2 separate regions of the Homo sapiens genome follow, and region 1 is linked to region 2. Evidence: promoter capture Hi-C in 16 types of primary human blood cells and fetal thymus (Javierre and others, 2016). All regions are on one chromosome and are shown on one strand. The core of a region is centred on a gene start or on the middle of the fragment in contact, and the rest is flanking DNA. Distances in the headings are between cores, read along the strand shown. Region 1 holds the start of KLHL9 (kelch like family member 9). Region 2 holds the start of RRAGA (Ras related GTP binding A).

The links. Contacts are between HindIII fragments. The CHiCAGO score rates a contact against its expected background, and 5 or more counts as called.
Region 1: a contact is called between the fragment with the promoter of KLHL9 here and the fragment with the promoter of RRAGA in region 2, in 1 of 17 cell types (M2 macrophages). The highest score is 5.4, in M2 macrophages.

What each region holds. Positions count from the first base shown.
Region 1 is chr9:21,333,727-21,337,039 of GRCh38, forward strand. It overlaps KLHL9 (kelch like family member 9), which reads right to left and starts at 1,678. Exons shown (of 1, transcript NM_018847.4): 1 at 1-1,678. The coding sequence starts at 1,133. It overlaps LOC107987053 (a long non-coding RNA gene), which reads left to right. Exons shown (of 3, transcript XR_001746634.2): 3 at 2,895-3,313. RefSeq lists enhancers at 1,108-1,157, 1,348-1,657 and a silencer at 1,698-1,867. The HindIII fragment of the contact is 830 bases long and covers 1,139-1,968 here.
Region 2 is chr9:19,047,608-19,051,061 of GRCh38, forward strand. It overlaps RRAGA (Ras related GTP binding A), which reads left to right and starts at 1,820. Exons shown (of 1, transcript NM_006570.5): 1 at 1,820-3,418. The coding sequence starts at 2,053. The coding sequence ends at 2,994. It also overlaps a transcript of SAXO1 not described here. RefSeq lists an enhancer at 1,760-2,281 and a silencer at 1,889-2,078. The HindIII fragment of the contact is 15,757 bases long and covers 1-3,454 here.

The DNA.
Region 1 (3,313 bases), core at 428-2,927, 2.3 Mb after region 2:
TTATTATACCGAGGATCAAATCTGAAAACTGTATCAACAGCAGTTTTTCCTTTTGTATCATAATTACTCTGACCACCAACTACATAAAGAAAGTTTCCAATGACAGCAATACCATGCTGGTAACGGGGAGCATCCATTGGGGCTAAAGATCTCCATTCTTGTGCCCTTTCATCATACATCCGTAATTCTTTACTGACAACCAGCTGCTGCCTCAAAACTCCTCCTAATGTAACCAAGTGAGTGGAGTCAGATCGAATGGCAGTTCTATCTGACTGCATCACTGGCTGCATATATGGCATCATTTGGTAATTGCTAGCTTCCAAAAGCAAATTCACGCAGGTATTGTCTGTTCTCATGAAATCTACTGTCTGCACGTAATTGATGAGATCCTGTGGTGTCATCAGTGGAAATCGAATATTCTTCATTAACTTTGCAGCATAATCCATCCGAGGGTCTTCCAACCTTAGCCAGCGACAGGCTGCCTTAAAGAGTTCAAGTTCGGTACAGTGCTTAAGACTATTACTGGAAAGCACAAATGCAAGTCGTTCAAAAGGGAGTTTTAGAAACTCCCCAGTACTCAATAAAGCAGGAAAGTTCTTCAGGATGAAATTATTAACATATTTATCCACTTCTATAAGATTGTAGGTGTTAGCAATTCGTCCAACCTCAACACAGTTATCCAAAGAGACTCCTGATATAAGAAATACTTTACAGAAATCCAAAACGGGTAATATTTGTAAAAAGCTAGCAGCTTCAAGTGTGTCCTGAAGATTGTCCATATTAAGAGAAAGTTTTGCAGTATAAATAAAATCAATGATTTTCTTCAGACCAACCTTGTTCACCCCATGAAGCTTAATGCACATCAAATCTTGTTCTTTCATTCCACCTGTGAACATGGCTTTGAAATAATCACTAGCAGACGCCATCATAGCTCTGTGAACAGGGAAGATTTCATCTCCATCACCTGGTACCAGGGTCACATCACAAAGCAATCCTTCTATTCTAAGCTGATCAAAGCCTTGCAATACCACCGAACTGTGAGTATTGCTGGTAAAAAAGCGTGTGGTTCCTGCCTTACAAGGCTGCAAATGGGCAGAGACGCCCATTTCGCCGTTACCAAGGGACACTTTCATGTGAAAGCTTTCCTCTTGCACAGAGATGCAAGCCGGATAAAGAAGTTATAACCGGAATGTTTTACAGGTAACGAGGTGTCCAGAAAGAACAGAAAGCTCGTTTCCTTATCAAGGGAAGGCAGTCACTGCGGCACCCCTCGGGCCACGCCAGTCAGTCATCCACTGAAAATCACCCTGTAGCAGGACCACAAAGGGCTGTGGACCTCAAATCTGATTATTAGACAGATGATTCATCACCTGAAGGCGGTTAAATGACCTGGTTCACCTCGTCCGGCCTGCGCTGCCGCTCCTTCAGCAGTTCCGCTTCGGGCAAGGAAGAGGCGCCGCCACGTACTGTGGCTCCACGGCCCGCTCGGCGGCGGGTCCGGACACCTCAGCGAACGGCCCGCTGCGCCCTCCGCTGTACCTAGAGTGTCGCAGCGGCCACCGGCCTGTCTTTGAGCAAGGGCCGGGAACACAGGCCTGGGCCTGGGCTTGGGCCTAGAATACCGGCCTAGCCCCAACACCGAGCCGCTCCTTCCGGAAAAGCCTAGTCCCAGGATACCACGGGGTGGGAGCGGCCTTAGCGGCTACTGCGGCTGCGCGGCCTCCAGACCTCGTCAGTCAGCGGGAGGGTGGGGGTGGGGAAGGGGGAGGAAGTACCCGGGAGGCGGGAGGGCGAGGGTTGGGGAAGCGGAGCTGTGTGGGGTGGGCGCCAGCCCGGCCTCTTAGAGCTGCCTTGTATGTGGGACCAAATAGGACAGAATGTGTGCAAGCAAGTGTGTTATGCTGCACGTTTGATATAAGTTTTTCGCATATCTGAGCTCTTACGTTCCCCAAATGCATAATTTTTCAAAGCTTTACGCTTCCTAGCTTCTGTTTTTTTGAATAACAGTGAAATGCGGCATTTGTATAAATTGAGAGGAAACCTGGATGCTTAATTTTTTTTTTCCTCTACAAAACAATAATTGTTATCCCACATTATGTAGTAGATACTTCAGTTACAATTTTGGTTCATATTTTCAAATTTGTTACAATTTCAAACGCAAAATATTTGTCTTTACTAGATTGTTACTTTATTATGTAAATGATATATTCTAAATTTTTGGCTTGAAATGCCTTTGTTTTCCACAATTTTAAAAATGGCTACATAATTTTCCAATAACTATACATACTATAGTTTCCTTTGCCCATTGGTTTGTTCCTGAATGTGTACCTTCTTATCCTCCATTGTTTTATAGACTCGGTAGTAAACTTATACAATCTGGTAGCAAAATTTTAGCCCTGTTATGGATAATATTTAGTAAAATACTGATCCAAGACAATATTTCCAAAATATTATCACCAACAATGTTTGTGTCTTTCCCTTCTTCTGACTTTTCCCTTTGTGAGTATTTTATTAACTTGCATTTCTTTAATTAGTGGTAAATTTAAATTTTGACATACAAATAAATGTATACTTTGACACAATTTCTTCCATTTTCCAAATTTTGAAGTTTCTGTCTTTTAAATCCTTCTAGTTCTTTATGCATATGCAAAGTAAGAATGTAGTCATGTTTTTCTTACACTCGCCTCGTTTTTATGTAAAAGATAGCATACCATGTACACTGTTCTGCATCTTTTTTTTTCACTTCAAGATCTTCCTGAATTAGTGTAGAGGGCTTATTTATATTTTTAAACAATTCTGTTGTTGCCTTCTGAGTTGTTACATCATAAGTTATTTAACCAGTGCCCTGTTGATGGGCAGTTCATCTGTTTTGAATGTTTTCTATTGTTTCCAAGGGATGGCAGCAAAATTCAGAAGGCTTAGACTACCACTGTCCTCCACAAGGTGCTCCAGCAGATTGTCACCTTATTCAACACAAGAGGTTGGTTGGAATGAAACTGGCCTGGAGAAATTATTCACTGAATTTTTATCAGCATTGGGAAGTCCTGGAGCCCTGCTTGTTGAATGAGTTAGGGGTGGAAGGGCTCTCTCAGGCCATGACAACTCCCTAATGCTGTGAAGAGCTACTTCCAAGGAATCAGTCTCTATCTGGAAAAGAAAGAAGAGAGCCTCTGTACATGGGAAGTTGGAGCAAGAAATCATGAGATCCTTCTTTTTTTCATCAAACTTGCAAGTAAGATTAATAGCTTAGGAACAGACTTGTGTCTTCATGAAATGATTACTATAGACACTCTTCATTATATTCCCATATGTT
Region 2 (3,454 bases), core at 570-3,069:
ATGTTTTTAGAGAGGAAAGAATAGATCAAAACCAAGAAGCAGGCATCAGACTACTGGCTGCTAAAAGACGATGGAGCAACAGAGCAATGCCTCCAAGACTCTGAGGAAAAATTATGTCCAACCAATCAAGTGTGAGGGTAAAAACAAAGAAATTTTCAGACATCCAATCTCTTGAAATTTTTACTCTCCTCATACTTTTTATCTGGAAACTATTGGAACATGTGTTCCACCAAATGAGCCAAAAATGAGAAGATGTGAAATCAGGAAAAAGAATACCCAACTCGAAAGAACGGGGAAGGGAAACCCCAGAATGGTGGTGAAAGGCGATCAGATAAGAAGGCTCCAGAAGAGGTAGCACCAAGGAGATGAAACTGAATACATTGAGAGGAGATTTTCCACATACTATATTGTATTATGGAATTTCACTCTATGATTTCCATAAACTACAGCAAAGGCCATTTTTGAACTTCTTTTACTGCACACGTTAACAGTAGGAATTAAAATATTTTTTGAATAAATGAAAGAATGGAATACCTGAATTTGTACAGTACAGTATACACTTTGATAAGGGCTTTAGGCCAGGCACGGTGGCTCACGCCTGTAATCCCACACTTTAGGAGGCCGAGGCAGGTGGCTGGCTTGAGTTCCAGACCAGCCTGGCCAACATAGTGAAACCCCGTCTCCACTAAAAATACAAAAATTAGCCGGGCGTGGTGGCAGGTGCCCACAATCCCAGCTATTTGGGGGACTGAGGCAGGAGAATCGCTTGAACTCAGGAGGCGTAGGTTGCAGTGAGCTGAGATCGCGCCACTGCACTCCAGCCTGGGCAACAGAGTGAGACTCCGTCTCAAAAGAAAAAAAAAGGACTTTAAGGTAGATACAGAGGCTTCAGTATCCTGATGACTCTCATTCATTCTGTATGAACGATACTGGCGACACTGATTCACTCATCTACTTGAAGACCAAGAGCAGAATCATATTATGCTTTGAGAGGGGCACAGGGTAGCCTATTGTTAGGCAAATAGACCGCAGCAAGATTGTCTAAAACCAAATTCCATTTCATCATTTAGTATCTGTGTAACTTGGTCAAGTGACTTAACCTCTCTAACCTTTGATTCCCTAACTTGAAAATAGGGTTATTAATTCACAGGGTTACTGTGAGGATGGAACTAATGCCTGGGATTCCACATTATCATTTCCTCGAGCTTTGGAATTCTAATTATAAATTCTAAAGTCTGAGATTACGGAAAAGCAGATGTGAGAAAGGAATTAAAAGCACCCACTGGAAGCCAGGATGTCTCCTAGGAGGGACTTGCTATTACCTAGCTGCGCAGCAACAGGCAATCGCTTGCCTACAAGTCTCACTTTCCGCGCCTGCACAGTCTCCATCTGCCCTGCCCTTGTACTCACTGGGCCGGGCAAGCTGGGGAGGCCTAAGCGGACTGGGAAGTTAGGCTTTCCCTCCACTTCACCAGTCGGCTGCCCCTGCGGAAACCGGCCCGACACACCTCGCTCCTAAAGCCAGTTGCGGTGGTGGTGGCGGTTGGGGCTTTTTTTGGCCACGAGAGGGCAGCATTTCCCCCGGCCAACCACACACGTACCCCTAGCAACAGCAAACCCAGCTGCAACAGAACAAAAGACCGAAGTCCTCGAGCTTCCCTTCCATCTTAGGGCTCACGCCGCCCCGGTTAGGTTTCATTAGAGCAGCGGCTTTTCAAGGCTCGTCGGGCACGGAGGGCGGAGCGAGGGAGCTCTCGCGAGATCGCCGCCGGAAGTGGGTGGTGGCGGGGACGCAGCGGCTCCCTCCCGGAAAGCGAGCGTATCTCCCGAGCCGTTGCCACTGACAGCCGCGGGCGCTCCCATCTGAGTAAGAGCCAGCCCGTCCGCGGCCTCTCCAGCCCCGGGTTCGCGCTCTCGACTCTCCTGCCTGCCCAGCTGCGCGGCGGAGCGGAGCGAGGCGCGGCCTGCGAGTCCCCGGCAGCCCCCGACCCCTCCCTCGGCGCTGCGTGTAGGCCGCGCCCTCAGGCCCAGTCCGCGGTGCCCCGGCGGGTGATGCCAAATACAGCCATGAAGAAAAAGGTGCTGCTGATGGGGAAGAGCGGGTCGGGGAAGACCAGCATGAGGTCGATAATCTTCGCCAATTACATTGCTCGCGACACCCGGCGCCTGGGGGCCACCATTGACGTGGAACACTCCCACGTCCGATTCCTAGGGAACCTGGTGCTGAACCTGTGGGACTGTGGCGGTCAGGACACCTTCATGGAAAATTACTTCACCAGCCAGCGAGACAATATCTTCCGTAACGTGGAAGTTTTGATTTACGTGTTTGACGTGGAGAGCCGCGAACTGGAAAAGGACATGCATTATTACCAGTCGTGTCTGGAGGCCATCCTCCAGAACTCTCCTGACGCCAAAATCTTCTGCCTGGTGCACAAAATGGATCTGGTTCAGGAGGATCAGCGTGACCTGATTTTTAAAGAGCGAGAGGAAGACCTGAGGCGTCTGTCTCGCCCGCTGGAGTGTGCTTGTTTTCGAACGTCCATCTGGGATGAGACGCTCTACAAAGCCTGGTCCAGCATCGTCTACCAGCTGATTCCCAACGTTCAGCAGCTGGAGATGAACCTCAGGAATTTTGCCCAAATCATTGAGGCCGATGAAGTTCTGCTGTTCGAAAGAGCTACATTCTTGGTTATTTCCCACTACCAGTGCAAAGAGCAGCGCGACGTCCACCGGTTTGAGAAGATCAGCAACATCATCAAACAGTTCAAGCTGAGCTGCAGTAAATTGGCCGCTTCCTTCCAGAGCATGGAAGTTAGGAATTCCAACTTCGCTGCTTTCATCGACATCTTCACCTCAAATACGTACGTGATGGTGGTCATGTCAGATCCGTCGATCCCTTCTGCGGCCACTCTGATCAACATTCGCAATGCCCGGAAACACTTTGAGAAGCTGGAGAGAGTGGATGGCCCCAAGCACAGTCTCCTTATGCGTTGAATATTGCCAAATGCTCTTTCTGAAAATGCTGAATTGCCTTTTTTGTTTGCATCCTTTATTTTTAATATTCATAATGTCGTGTGCTTAAAAGTGGGCTTTGAAGTGTGTGCTGCTTACTCCTTTCATCTTTCTCCCCGCTTCCCCAGTCTTTAAACATTGGACGCTATTTACTCAGCTACCCAGTAGAGCTTGAAGCTGACCTTTCTGAGAAGTTGGTATGGTGTAACACTAAAGTAGGTGGTTCGTGTGTGTTCTCATTACCTGGTTATGATAGATATGCACATCAAAGCCTTTACCAGTATCTTCCTGTATTCCGTATCAGATTGCAAAGACGGAATGTTACTATTTTATCAGCAAGGTATTAAAATGCATTTATAAATTCTTCTTGGCTTCATTCATGAATAAACGTGTTAGCAATTTAAAACATGTCCTTATTTGAAATAACTTGAAAGTGCTTAAT